Linked DNA regions of Homo sapiens: all the other regions are linked to region 1. Evidence: promoter capture Hi-C in human tissues and cell types (Jung and others, 2019). All regions are on one chromosome and are shown on one strand. Each heading gives the region's core, a stretch centred on a gene start or on the middle of the fragment in contact. The rest is flanking DNA. Distances are from core to core; before and after follow the strand shown. Region 1 holds the start of KCNH4 (potassium voltage-gated channel subfamily H member 4). Region 2 holds the start of STAT3 (signal transducer and activator of transcription 3). Region 3 overlaps STAT3 (signal transducer and activator of transcription 3).

Region 1 (4,811 bases), core at 1,559-4,058:
AGCTTTTGCGTGGTTGAATCGGAAACACTCTTGGTTGGGGAGTTCCCAGTGCAAGGCCCTGGGGCACAGAGAGAACTGCACAGGTGCATGCTTGGATCGGGCCATGCGGGACTCCTACGATGCTCTGCTAGGCATTCTGTAGCGGGGACTTTACCCAGAGACGCGGAAGGGGAAGGAAAGCAAGAAAGGTTGCAGCGGTCGGGCGCGGTGCTCACGCCTGTAATCCCAGCACTTTGGGAGGCCAAAGCAGGAGGATCCCTTGAAGCAAGGAGTTCGAGACGAGCCTAGGCAACATAGTGAGTGAGACATCTCTCCAAAAAGTTTTTTTAATTAGCGGGGTATGGTGGGCGAGAGGATTGCTTGAGCCCAGGAGTTTGAGTTTGAGCCATAATTGGGCCACTGCACTCCAGCCTGGGCAACAGAAGGAGGCACTGTCAAAAAAAAAAAAAAAAGAAAGAAAAAGAAAAAAGAAAAGAAAGAAAGGAAAGAAAGGAAGGAAGGAAGGAAGGAAGGAAGGAAGGAAGGAAGGAAGGAAGGCAGGCAAGCTGCATAGAGCAGCAGAATCCAGCTAGGAAGGGGTGGGAGTCAATCCTGCTGAAAAGGCAGGGAATTTGAACTTCAACAATGAGTCATCCAGAATGGCTGCATCATGGGGTATAGGGTGTGGGGAGTGGAGAGGCTCAGGAAGGGACACAGTTACAGTCAGTGCAGCACAGCTCGCAAAGGCTCTCACAAATCATCGGGCTTTGCACTTTATCTTGTAGGTAACAGAGTCATGGGACATTCTTAAGCAGGGGCAGTACAAGATTTTACTGCAACTCCAGCCAAAGACACCTGTTACTGGTGTTCCCAAAATCCATATGTTGAAGTCCGTACCCGTGGCACTTCAGAATGTGGCTGTATTTGGAAATAAGGTCCTTCCAGATGCAATTAGTTAAGATGAGGTCATACTAGAGTAGGGTGGGCCTCTAATCCACTGTGACTGGCGTCCTTATAAAAAAGGGAATTGGAACACAGAAACACACACAGGGAGAACCCATGTGAACATGAAGGTAGAGATTGGCTCCTACAAGCCAAGGAACACCAAAAATTGCCAGCACCCCCACCCCCAGAAGATAGGGGAGAGGCATGCAACAGATTCTCCCTCATAGCCTTCAGAAGGAACCAACGCTCTTCACCTGACCTTGCTTGGACTTCTAGCATCCAGAACTGTGAGACAATAGGTTTCTGTTGTTTGAGCCACTCACTTTGTGGTACTTTGTTATGGCAGTCCTAGGAAACTAATATAACATCCAAAAGTAGAGACACAGGCTAGGCTCCGTGGCTCATGCCTGTAATCCCAGCACTTTGGGAGGCTGAGGCGGGCGGATCACTTGAGGTCAGGAGTTCAAGACCAGCCTGGCAAACATGGCGAAACCCCATCTCTACTAAAAATACAAAAATTAGCCGGGCATTGTAATGCACGCCTGTGATCCCAGCTACTAAGGAGGCTGAGGCGGGAGAATTGCTTGAACCCAGGAGGCAGAGGTTGCAGTGAGCTGAGGTCATGCCACTGCACTCCAGCCTGGGCAACAGAGCAAGACTCCGTCTCAAAAACAACAAGAACAAGAACAACAAGAACAACAACAACAACAAAAGTAGAGACACAGAAAAATGTGGCACTTCTTAGCAATCTAACATCCCAGATAATACCTAGCTCAGAGGGTGGGGAGAATTTAGCCTGCCCTCCTTGCCCATAGGGTTCCCACTTTCACTGCTTCAGCTGTTTTGTCGTGGGAAGCAGCCACCCTCAGCCACAGAACTCAGCTGCCTCAATTTTCTGCATAGGTAGTGAGAAAGTCCTGTGTCTAGTCTCACTTTGGTCCCTCTTGCTGCTGTACTGGTTCCATCTTGGAGAAGTTAGAGGTCAAAGTTCACATGTGCATCCTTGGAGATTTGCAAGCCATGACTCTGCCCACCTCGAAACTATCTTTTTCAGAGGTAGTTTCTCCCAAACTTGCCTCCAGCCTCTCTTCCACTTGAAGGGCAGCAGAGAGGAGGATTAAGACAGTAGGAAGAGGGAAAACAGGCAGGCAACTGCCCTTCAAGACACTTATTTTGTACCAAAGACATGCATTATGGTATTACATTCTCACGGTAACTGCATCAGGTAAGAATTATCAGCTCCATTTTACAGATGAGGAAAGTGGGCTTGGAGAGGATATCACACGATTGGTGTCTAGAGCTGGGACTCTACCTGGTGGACTCCAAAGCTCTTTTCATTCCACCATGCTGTGTCTCAGTAGGCAGAGTTCGCCAGGGTGTCTTGGGAAAACTGAGGCAGGAGGTAAGAATGGTGCTTTCTAGAGTTGGGGTTTCAAGCCTTCCCATTGTCCATTCTCTACCAGCAAACTAGCCTCTTAACCCTTGCTGTCTCACGCTGGAGCTACTGGCCTGTGGGTGCTGCGAAATATGTCAACTCCAGTAGGCGGCACTGTGAACCAGACACCAGCCCAGCGTGGACGCCGCGCGGGAAAACCCGCGAGGTGGAGCCACAAGGAGCAGCCAGGGAACCACGTGTGGAGGCGTGGCCAGCCTGGAAGAGGGCGGGTCTGTTATTCAAGCCCCGCCCATCATTTCAGGCCTCCCCTCCCGGTGGGCGTGCCCCGAATTCTCTCCCCGAGAGACACGCGTGGGCCGCTCCCCTCTGGGAGGAGGGCTGCCCAGAGGGGTGCGGGTGTCGCTAGCGGCCCCTCCCCGTGTGGGGCCACGTGGCGGGTGCGGGCCGAGCCCGAGGGGAAGAACCTGGCCCGTGGGGAGGTGGGGGGGACCGAAACGGCGCTGAGCCGAGCCGAGAGCTACGGGGTTCGGAGCAGAGGCAGCGGCAGCGGCAGCGGCAGTAAGAGGGAGGGGAGGAGGCAGGAGGGCGCATGGGGCGCCCCGGCCCCTCCGACAGCGCGCCCCCTCCGGCCCGGCCGCGCTGAAAGCTCCCCAGCGCCGCGCCTTGAACCCACGCCCCGGGGCCATGCCGGTCATGAAGGGGTTGCTGGCCCCGCAAAACACCTTCCTGGACACCATCGCCACCCGTTTTGACGGAACGCGTGAGTGGGACGGAGGTCGGGGCTTGAGGTTCGAGCTGGGGGGCAAGTATCCTCGGGGCCGTCTCGGATCTCCTGGACATGGTGAGACCCGAGGCGAGGGGAGAGAATGGAGGTGCGGGTCTAGGAACTCCCAAAGCCGCGGTGCAGGAACAGGGCGGGGAGTGCCCTGCGAGGGGAGGAGGGGAAAGGGCCGAGAGCACGGGGGCCAAGGTTAGGGGGTGTGACTCGAGGCAGAAGAGGCTCTTTGTGCGGCAGAGCGGAGGAGGGTCCTTCGGAGCCGCCCACTCTCGGGCAGAGCTGTGCTGGGGGCGTGTATGGGGGTATCCGAGACACAGAAGTGGGGCAAAGTGGCCGGGCATTCTGGGGTCTACTCACAGACTCCAGCTCCCACTACCTCCAGAAAAAAAGGAGAAAAGATCAGACTTCAGCAGGACCTAGTTTGGATTGAGGTCGCGCGCCCCCAAATCGTGGGGCGTCAGTGTCTAAGGTGGGTGAGGCAGGAGGAGGGGAGCGGTCTGTGCGACGGTGGGAACTCCCAGCTCGCCCAACGTAGCTTGGGTTTCAGGTTCAGCACCTTGGACAGCCACATCACTCCTCCCCCGCCTCTTCTCCCGCCATTCCCTCTTCCCACTCTGGAACCCAGAGATTCCCCGCCCTCACCTCCCCCAACCCCGCCATTCCCTCGGGAACCCTGGCCGGGATCTGGATGGTGGGGGAGCGGTACCCGAGGGCGGAAACTGAGCCGCCGGGCCCTACCCTCTTCCCCACCACCTTGTTTCCATAGCGCCCATCACCGGGGCAACAGGCCCTGGGATGGAAGAAGGAGGCTGTGCCCAGAGCCCAGTGCCTCCCAGGCACCTTCAGTGTCCCCATCAGCCTCCCTGCCCCCAGACAGTCATCCCTCCTAGAGCACCAGGACTGGTTGTGTCACAGGCCCCATCTCTTAGCTGAGTCTCTGTCCCTGGATGGCCCACAGGAGTCCCCCTGGCCTCCCACCCATTGGAGCTGGAGGGAGACAGCTCGGGTTCTGCTGCTGGGGGTTGCTGGAGCTATACGCTCAATGCCCTCTCCCATTAGACTTTGAGCAGTGGGGCAGATCCCCTGAAAGCAGCTACAAGAATGCTAAAAAGTGGACCTTCTCTGGAAGGCAGGGAAGGAAGACAGCACTCATCACTGTCTGCCCCCACACTAAGGAGATCTGTGAGTTTGGATAATCTCTGCCTTTTGGTTTCCTATCAATAAATGGGTGTGGTGTCATCAGAATCTCTGCCCTGCTTACTCTGTAATAGGAAGAAAGCCAAGTGAATGTGGGGAAAAAATTTCACCTTCTCAGAGTAGCACTTACCATGTGCTAGGACTTGTTCTCCCCAAGTTAACTCATGTAACTCTCACAACGACCATGTGAGGAAGGCCTATTATGCCCTACTTTGCAAATAAGGAAAGCTTAGGCACAGAAGAGGTCATCAACTTGCCCAAGGTCACACAGTTAGTAAGTGGCAGTGGAGGGTTGCAGGAGCCCAGGCTCTTACTCACCATGCTATACTGCCTTCTACAGTGACAGCTCACCAGTTGGAAGGCAGGGGGATGGATGGCATGACCTCCTGGGGTCCTTCTCCAACTCCCCGTTAGACCCTGCTTAAGTCCTGTCTCAAGTCCTTGTCTCTTTGCTCCAACTTCTCCAATTCTCAATTCAGAATATCCCAAAGTGGGGTCAGGAGCAACATGGAAACC
Region 2 (4,811 bases), core at 1,224-3,723, 210 kb before region 1:
GGCTGATTTTTGTATTTTTAGTAGAGACAGGGTTTCATCATATTAGTCAGGCTGGTCTCGAACTCCTGACCTCAGGTGATCTGCCCGCCTCAGCCTCCTAAAGTGCTGGGATTACAGGCGTGAGCCACAGTGCCCAGCCTAATTTTTGTATTTTTAGTAGAGACGGGGTTTCACTGTGTTGGCCAGGCTGGTCTTGAACTGACCTTGTGATCCACCCGCCTTGGCCTGAATGTTTATTTATTTAATTTTTAGGATGATGTCCCTGGCAGCCAGTGGAAGAATAGGATAGAATAAGGAGAGAATAATCAGGTGGTTAAGGCAGTGGCCCAAGGGACAGAAATTGCAGCATTTAGCCAAGAGGAATTTGGCGGGGTTGTGGAGAAAGGCCAGTGTCTGGGCTGAAGAGAATTTTTGCAGGTCAAACCCATAGTCGCAGAGGTAGATTTTATGTGTTACTGGTGGGGAGGCCAATGAGGGAAACAGAGGCCAGCTCTTGAGAAGTCAGAAGCAGGGCAGGGTTTGAATGAATGGAACAAAGCTATGGGACGTAAAGCCCCCAAACCTGACTCTGAACCTGGTATATTTCTGAGTTTCTCTGTGATCTTGAAAATGTCATATTATGTTGTCTTTAGTTTTCTATCAGCGGATAATATGGCCTCTCCTATCTGCTATTCATGATTGTGAGAAAGAAACCAGGCAGGGAGTGTATAAGGTGTGTAAGTCCTTTGTAAGCAGTAAATCACTAAACAAATCCTAGACCCTATGTTATCAGGGAGGCAGTTGGCCGCACGGGATAGCGTAGTTACAAGAGACTATAGGCGGAGATGGGGGATATCTGTCCTGTGGTGTAGATAAACAGCCTAATCAATACACACACACTCTACAGGTAAATACAGCAATTTCCATACTGAGCTGTGTCTACCAGAGGGCAATAGGAGGTTCTCAATTCTCACCACCAGTGACCCTATGAATTGCCCTGTAGATGCCTCTGTCCCTCATTGGATATGAGGTGGTACGAGCGGTCTGAATCTGTAGACTTAGACAGGCTTCAGGTATCTGGGGAACCATGTGAGTAAAACCTTGTATTGTTTCTGGGGCTAGAATCTAGTCTCCTTCAAACACTCAGAAGGATCTGTGACTGCCTTCAAAGGTTAAGAGTCATTGATTTTTCTCACTAGAAATTAATAAGAACAGCTATCCTTGGGGAGAAGGAATGATGGGGGTAGGGAAAGATTTTCATTTAATATTTTTGACCTTTCTGAACGGTCTGCATTTTCTAAACAGGAACATGTATTAGGTTCATTGAAAAAAAATATGTCAGGGGTTAGCTGAGCAGTGAGATAATGGGTCCTTTTTAGATTTTTGTCTTTATACCTGTTCGTATTAAACAAACACAAATATTAATAACATATTTTTAAAGACCCAAAAAAATAAAAATTAAAAACCCTGATAGTATCAGCACATACACAGAAATCACTCCATTATGCAAAGTTCATCCTCTATTATGAAAGGCAAAATGTCTACATTTCCTATCAACCACTGGCTTCAATTCAGTAAAACTTGCATACCAAGTAGGCAAGGTGGAAAAGAAAAAGGCAGAACATTTCATGTATTTCAATTCAGACGCATAAAAATGTCAAGCCCTACACGTTATCAGCTTTCGTATACACCGTCTTCTGCATTCGCCTGTACGGGCCAATGGGCTAGCTGGTCGGCGTTTGATGCTTGAAGTGATGGAACGGAGTACGGGGTTAAATCCACTACCCTCTCCCCACGCACTCTAGTAATTACTCTATTTCCACGTCATGTTTCCGGGTGTGTGTGTCCCTGCTCACGCAGAAACTGAAGTTCAAAGCAGGCGGAGTCACCCATGTTCTTTTTGTTGTCCCCAGAACCCAATTCAGGAGTTGGGTCCCCAGAGGATCTGGAGATACCTGGGGACTATCTAACTAGCTGATTCCCGCGTGGTAAGAGGCTCTCAACCTCGCCACCACGTGGTGCCAAGGGCCGGGAAAAGGGAGAGCGGGCAGGAGGGAGCTGTATCAGGGGCATTTAAAGTGCCTTGACGTCACGCACTGCCAGGAACTCAGCTGAGTTTTCAGCAGGACATTCCGGTCATCTTCCCTCCCTCCCCCCGGGCTTCTGTGCCCAAGTCCTCGGCTCTTCCCTCGCTGTGGCGGAGGGAGGAGCACCGAACTGTCGGAACAGCCAGCACAGGGGCGTATCAGTCTCCTCTTGGCTCCGCCCTTTCTCCTAGCTGCTCTCCTCATTGGTCAGTGGGCGGGGCTTCGGCTGTACCGCACACGCACTGGGACCTCTGGGTGGCCGAACGAGCTGGCCTTTCATGAATTATGCATGACGGCGTGCCTCGGCCAGGCTGGGGCTGGGCGAGGATTGGCTGAAGGGGCTGTAATTCAGCGGTTTCCGGAGCTGCGGCGGCGCAGACTGGGAGGGGGAGCCGGGGGTTCCGACGTCGCAGCCGAGGGAACAAGCCCCAACCGGATCCTGGACAGGCACCCCGGCTTGGCGCTGTCTCTCCCCCTCGGCTCGGAGAGGCCCTTCGGCCTGAGGGAGCCTCGCCGCCCGTCCCCGGCACACGCGCAGCCCCGGCCTCTCGGCCTCTGCCGGAGAAACAGGTGAAGGGGGTGCAGGGTGGGGCCGTTGGGGAGGCCTGGGGACCCGGGGGCTCCGCAGCGGCAGGGGGCCTCTGGGACCTTGGGGATGTTGTGATGGACGCTGCAGTGGGGCCGGGAGAGATGAAGAGACGCGGAGGGTCGCCCTGAGGGAAGACTCTTCGGGATGACAGGAGCGGGCCTCGGAAGGGACTCGGGGCGCTGGAGGGAAGTTTCGTTCTTCGGAGAAACAGAACGCGCTCGAGGGGGCACCGTGGGGCGAGGGCGCACTCGGTTGCGGCGGCAGGAGTGAGGGACAGTCCCCCGATTTCCTGCTCCCTGGGGCCCTGGGGACGTTCCGGCCACCGGAGCGACTGTCACGCCGACGGGGATCACCGGCGCGAGTGGGGGGTCGGAAAGCGCCTCCTCCCCGCCCGGTCGGCGGCTCCCGCTGAGCCACTTCCTCCGCTTGCCCTGTTCCCGCTCCTTCAGGAGACAGCTGTGCCCTTTTGGAGGCAGGAATAGGTGTGTCTGTCGCCTGCAGCCTTACGGGCTGGCTGGTCGTGGGTAGGCTTTATTGCATAAGAATCAAGTTTCCTGTAGGGAAATTGACAGACCGGTACTCTTTCTAAATTCCCTCGCATCTTTTTCTAGGTTAAATTATGCTCCCCCCACGTCCCCGCCTTGTAAAAAAGAGAAAAAAAGACAAAATAAAATCCCCATCAACCCGTCAAGCCAGCTCTAGAGAGAGAAATAAACCTCTTGACATTGTCCTTTTCCAAATACCTGGTAAAGTCGGCCAGAAGATAAATAATTGAGCCATTGCATTTACTGGATTGTGGTGTTGCTTAATTGCATAGGACGGAATGAACCAATTGAGAGTGGGAGTTTTCTGTCTCAGAGCCAAGATCTTGGGTAAATGCAGAGGAGAGGGAAACAAAGACAGGCTGGCCTTGAAAAAACCATGTGTGCAAACTTTACATGCATTTGGGGGGTGTGGTTGCACTGAAGTTAACAAGATTCAAACCGTCGCCCAAGTTGGTATTTCCATGTTTGGTACACATCACTCTGTGCCATATCAGGTCGTTGTTAAGTGTGGTGACAAAATCAGTGGTTAGTCATTTTTTTAATTAAAAATGTGTATAGTGTGTACCTGCTGGTCTTACTGTATGTGCAACTAAAGGTTTACATAGTCTGTGTATGGGTTGTAAATTTTTGGCTGGCTGTGCTGATAAAGCATTGGGCTTGAATAAAGCAAAGCAGAAAATCATCTCAATCTTTTATATGTGGATTTAGACTGTGTTATGACTTGGTTCAGCCAGTTTTCTATCTTATTTTATATTAAATATGTCTGTGTTCTCTGAGTCAGCACATTTATTTCCTTATTACATGTTCCAGACAGGAGTGCTAGCCCAGTTTTTGTTCAGTTTGCACAGTGGGATGGGGAAACAAGTCTGGAATTTAAAAAAAAATGTTTTAGAGGTTGGAGCCTTGATTTTAGTCTCTATATTAGCACATCCATCACAAAGAACCATTAGTAAATTCATGAATCTTTTGTTTTTTATGTAGTTCATTTGAGAAGAATAATCACTTAGAAATATCCACAGTGCCAGGCATGGTGGTGCACACCTCTGATCCCAGCTAATTGAAGGCTGAGGTGGGAGGATTCCTTGAGTCCAGGAGTTGAGTCTGGTCTGGGCAACATGGTGAGAGGCCAGGAATTGGGTCTAGAGTCTAGTCTAAGCACCATAATGAGAACCCATCTTTAAGAAAGAAAGAAAGGAAAGGAGGAAGAAAGGAAAGAAAAAGAAATACCCACAGCACAGTTATGAATTAACCCACAAAGGACTTGTGAGGTGGGTAGTTCACATAACAATTACCCTAATATCGTAGATAAGAAAATTGAGGCCAAAGGATCAAGACACTTGGCCAACGCAGCAGAGTGCCATAGTGGTGGAATTTGTGCCTCCTTCTGTATATTTTGTGAAAAGTATCAGTGAAATTCTTTTTTTTTTTTTTTTTGAGTCAGAGTCTTGCTCTGTTGCCCAGGCTAGAGTGCAGTGGCGCAATCTTGGCTCACTGCAACCTCTGCCTCCTGGGTTCAAGCGATTCTCCTGCCTCAGCCTCCCAAGTAGCTGGGACTACAGGCGTGCGCCACCACGCCCAGCTAATTTTTGTATTTTTAGTAGAGACCGGGGT
Region 3 (4,811 bases), core at 2,312-4,811, 160 kb before region 1:
CTTCTTCATAGAATTAATTCATACATGTAAAATGCTTAGAACAGTATCTGACACATAAATGCAAAATAATTTAACTGCTTTCTGCTGCTGCTGACATCACTATCATCACCCTCACCATTACTGTAGGAAATGGGGACCCAGTGAAGAATTTTTTTTTTTTCTTTTGAGACAGAGTCTCACTCTGTCACCCAGGCCGGAGTGCAGTGACGCGATTTCGGCCCACTGCAACCTCTGCCTCTCAGGTTCAAGCGATTCTCATGTCTCAGCTTCCCAAGTAGCTGGGATTACAGGCATGAGCCACCACACTGGGCTAATTTTTTGTATTTTTAGTGAGATAGGGTTTCACCATATTGGCCAGGCTGGTCTCAAACTCCTGACCTCAGGTGATCCATCCACCTCGGCCTCCCAAAGTGCTGGGATTACAGGCATAAGCCACTGTGTCCGGCCCTAGTGAGGAATTTTAAGCAGAAAACTGATATGCTCAGGTGTGAGCGAGGTGGTAGGTAACACTTACTGTGCAGTGCCCTGTAGCCCAAGAGGTTAGCACACAGGCATTTGCTCAGGCAGCACTAGGATTTTCTGCTGTGGAAAACCTTTGTATTTTATCCTGCTCCACAAGATAAAAATAAGTGGTTTAAGTCAATTTGGATAGAGGCTCCAACTTACCATGGGAGGTAGGAAAGCCAAAGTTATCCCAAGGATGTTTTCAATCGTACGGATTAGGGGTCTGCAAACTGTGAGCGTGGCCCAAATCCAGCCTGCTGCTTGTTTTTGTAAATGAGGTTTTTTCGGAACCCAGCCACACTCATTTATTTATGCATTATCTGTGGCTGCTTTGGTGCTGCAGTGGCAGGGCTATTTGTGGCAGGGACTGTATGACCCAGGAAACCAAAAATATTTACCCTCTGTCCCTTAGAGAAAAAGTTTGCAACCCCTGATATAAAGCTATAAGTTGGTTATTTGTGGCCTCAACCCAGGCCTCACTGCTATTTTTTCTGTTTACAATACCTGGCATGCTCTTAAGTGTCTAGAATTGGTTAAAGATAGAAGAGTGGATGTAATCCCTGCTACCAAGGGCTGTCAGGCTAGTTGGGATTATAAGTACACAAACACTCAAAGTGAGAAAAACACAGAAAAGGATGTGTGTCATTTTGTCTAAGGAAGTTGAATAAGATTTCTCAGGAAAAGAAACATTTGAACTGAATTTGAAGGTGAGTGAGTTCAGGTGTGTTTGGGCTGAAGCCCAGGCCATGCTGAGTGGATAGCGGGTGGGAAGAGAGTGTGGAAACACACTGCATGCAGGGAAGAGTTGGGAGTCTGGGGTGACCAAGGCACAGGGAGGGAAAGTTGAAGTTATCAATTGTGTGAAACAGCTTTCTGTGTTGGCCTGAGATGTTTATAGCTGGAAGCAGTGGGGAGCCAATACAGTTTTTTACGAAGGTATTAGAGGTGGGTTTCTGTGGGTGATCGTTAATCATGTTTTCTCCCTTTAAGTGTAGTCCTGCTTGAGAAATAGACATGAGAAAGGAATGAAGGTTAAAACATCAGCTGTATTGTTGGTAAAACTAGAATGGAAAGTGTGGCTTGAGCTGGTAACCATAGGGGCTTTCCAATGCCTGTGCCCTGAGTTAGATCTTGGGGTAGAGAGACTGGATGTGCAGAGCAGCACCCCCACCCCACCCCAGCCATCCATATGGAGCTTCAGCTGCCATAGACCAACAAGGCAGAGGGATAGGCCTCTAGACCTGCTTCTAGAAACCAGGCTGCTGCTCTTGCTTATGGTGGGCCCTAGGAAGGCAAGAGTGAGAGGAGGGAGGCACCAGCTTAGGTGCTGGGTTCTTTGAAGATCTGTGTGTACACAGAGTCTTTCTCTCCATCTTACCAATCAGATGAGTCACTGTCACTGTGGGAAGAAGTAGGGGCATGGGTCACCTTCCCAAAACTTCTAAGAAGTTTGTATTCTGTGGGCTTGGATAGGGACCATGGGAAAGGAAGAGAATGGTTGCCCATAAAACTGGCTGTAGTGTGGCCTCAAACTTCTGGACTTAAATGATCCTCCCACCTCAGCCTCCCAAGTAGCTAGAACTACAGGTATATGCCACCATGCCCAGCTAGTTAAAAAAAAATTTTTTTTTTTTTTTGGTTGAGATGAGGTCTCTTTCTATGTTCCCTGGGCCGGTCTCAAACTCCCAGCCTCAAGTGATCCTCCTGCCTTGGTTTCCCAAAGTGCTAGGATTATAGGTGGGAGCTACCATGCCTAGCCCAAGCCTGTAATTTTTTTTTTTTTTTTTTGAGATGGAGTTTCACTTTTGTTGCTCAGGCTGGAGTGCATGGCGCAGTCTTGGCTCACCACAACCTCCACCTCCCGGGTTCAGGCGATTCTCCTTCCTCAGCCTCCCGAGTAGCTGGGATTACAGGCATGCACCACCAAGCTCAGCTAACTTTGTATTTTTAGTAGAGATGGGTTTCTCCGTGTCGGTCAGGCTGGTCTCAAACTCCTGACCTCAGGTAATCTGCCCACCTTGGCCTCCCAAAGTGCTGGGATTACAGGCATCAGCCACCGCACCTGGCACGAACCTGTAATTTTTAAGTTTCATATGCTATTTATTTTTTGTTATTTCTTTAATTCATTCATTCATTTATTCATTCGAGATGGGGCCTCACTATGTTGACTAGGCTAGTTTTGAACTCCTGGCCTCAAGCAGTCCTCCCACTTCAGCCTTCCCAAGTGCTGATATTATAGGTGTGAGCTGCTACATCCAGCCTTCTTTCTTCTTTTTCTTTTTCCATGTGCTATTTGACATTTTCCAAGGTACCAGCCTCCCCTTCTCCCCAAGATAATATCTTTTAATATGGAATTTCATCCCTAGGGCAGGACTTTTTTTTTATTATCCCTCAGAAATATACTGGACACCACGTTTAAGTAGACATCCAACATCTGCTGTCATAAATTGTTTTGAATTTTTTGACATACTTGCCCATGAGGTTTTTGAAGGCATAGACCATGTCTTAGCTGAACATGTGGTCTCTTAGTGCCATAAAGGGGGTTTATGGTATGACCTGTGTAGTGTCACCTGTGTAGTGACAGCACCACTGCCTCTGTTTCCCTTCCTCTTGTGATGGCAGCAGCGTCTCAAGCCAAACAAGAAGGGTAGTTAGGGTGGGATGGAAGCTGGGTAGAGGTATTCCTCTCCCCATAGTTCTGTGTTCACATGTGCATTGACCTCCTTTTTGGCAGCAAGGGGGCCAGGCCAACCACCCCACAGCAGCCGTGGTGACGGAGAAGCAGCAGATGCTGGAGCAGCACCTTCAGGATGTCCGGAAGAGAGTGCAGGTGATGCAAGTTACAAGCCTCGGGCAGGGAGCTTTCATTAATTTTTTTTTTTTTTTTTGAGACAGGGTCTTGCTCTGCCACTCAGGCTGGGCTGCAGTGGCATGATCACAGCTCACTGCAGCCTCGACCTCTCAGGCCCAAGCGATCCTCCTACCTCATCCTCCCAAGTAGCCGGGACCACAGGCATGCACCACCACGCCCAGCTAATTAAAAAAAAAAAATTTGTAGAGATGGGGGTCTCCCTGTGTTGTCCAGGCTGATCATGAACTCCTGGGCTCAAGTGATCCTCCCAACTCAGCCTCTCAAAGTGCTGGCATTACAGGCGTGAGCCACTGCACCTGGCCAACAGGGAGCCTTCTCTTGGGGATACTGCCTGCAGGTCCTGCATGTATCTTTTTTGAGGTTTTGGCTTCATTTGAATTCTCCTCAGAAACTTTATATTTTCTGTTCCCAAGGAAATCTTTCTTTACTTCTGTTTTTTTGTTTGCTTATTTTAAACAGGATCTAGAACAGAAAATGAAAGTGGTAGAGAATCTCCAGGATGACTTTGATTTCAACTATAAAACCCTCAAGAGTCAAGGAGGCAAGTGAATATTAGAGATGTTAAAATCTCTAGAAAGTGAGTTTGTGTTGTTGAGTTGAAAGACTCATTTGTCTTAACTCTGTTTAGATCTTAAGGCGGGCGGGGCGCAAGGGAGGTACGGGTCCTCAAAGGAGCCTGGTCATTAAGGACAGGAGTATTCCCTCAGGTCCAGGAGTATTCCCTCAGGTCCAGGAGTATTCCCTCAGGTCAAGGAGTATTCCCTCAGGTCAAGGAGTATTCCCTCAGGTCCAGGAGTATTCCCTCAGGTCCAGGAGTATTCCCTCAGGTCCAGGAGTATTCCCTCAGGTCCAGGAGTATTCCCTCAGGTCCAGGAGTATTCCCTCAGGTCAAGGAGTATTCCCTCAGGTCCAGGAGTATTCCCTCAGGTCCAGGAGTATTCCCTCAGGTCCAGGAGTATTCCCTCAGGTCCAGGAGTATTCCCTCAGGTCCAGGAGTATTCCCTCAGGTCAAGGAGTATTCCCTCAGGTCCAGGAGTATTCCCTCAGGTCCAGGAGTATTCCCTCAGGTCCAGGAGTATTCCCTCAGGTCAAGGAGTATTCCCTCAGGTCCAGGAGTATTCCCTCAGGTCCAGGAGTATTCCCTCAGGTCCAGGAGTATTCCCTCAGGTCCAGGAGTATTCCCTCAGGTCCAGGAGTATTCCCTCAGGTCCAGGAGTATTCCCTCAGGTCCAGGAGTATTCCCTCAGGTCCAGGAGTATTCCCTCAGGTCAAGGAGTATTCCCTCAGGTCCAGGAGTATTCCCTCAGGTCCAGGAGTATTCCCTCAGGTCCAGGAGTATTCCCTCAGGTCAAGGAGTATTCCCTCAGGTCAAGGAGTATTCCCTCAGGTCAAGGAGTTTTTTCTTCCTTCGCAGACATGCAAGATCTGAATGGAA

The links. The method cuts DNA at HindIII sites, captures the fragments that hold promoters and counts their contacts. A contact is called where the count stands out against the background at its distance.
Region 2: the fragment with the promoter of STAT3 here is called in contact with the fragment with the promoter of KCNH4 in region 1 in 2 of the 25 tissues and cell types used here (heart right ventricle and mesendoderm cells).
Region 3: a contact is called between a fragment that was not itself captured here and the fragment with the promoter of KCNH4 in region 1, in 3 of the 25 tissues and cell types used here (aorta, neural progenitor cells and spleen).

What each region holds. Positions count from the first base shown.
Region 1 is chr17:42,179,139-42,183,949 of GRCh38, reverse strand. KCNH4 (potassium voltage-gated channel subfamily H member 4) reads left to right here and starts at 2,808. Exons shown (of 17, transcript NM_012285.3): 1 at 2,808-3,080. The coding sequence starts at 3,005. RefSeq lists enhancers at 225-284, 3,848-4,415 and silencers at 2,377-2,652, 2,659-2,898. The HindIII fragment of the contact is 13,187 bases long and covers 1-4,811 here.
Region 2 is chr17:42,386,104-42,390,914 of GRCh38, reverse strand. It overlaps STAT3 (signal transducer and activator of transcription 3), which reads left to right and starts at 2,473. Exons shown (of 24, transcript NM_139276.3): 1 at 2,473-2,636. RefSeq lists an enhancer at 1,753-2,022 and silencers at 2,543-2,822, 3,053-3,132. The HindIII fragment of the contact is 15,490 bases long and covers 1-4,811 here.
Region 3 is chr17:42,337,837-42,342,647 of GRCh38, reverse strand. It overlaps STAT3 (signal transducer and activator of transcription 3), which reads left to right. Exons shown (of 24, transcript NM_139276.3): 5 at 3,239-3,334; 6 at 3,836-3,917; 7 at 4,791-4,811. Among named protein-coding and RNA genes, the nearest start is that of STAT3, 48 kb to the left of the region's middle. RefSeq lists a silencer at 4,795-4,811. The HindIII fragment of the contact is 7,087 bases long and covers 18-4,811 here.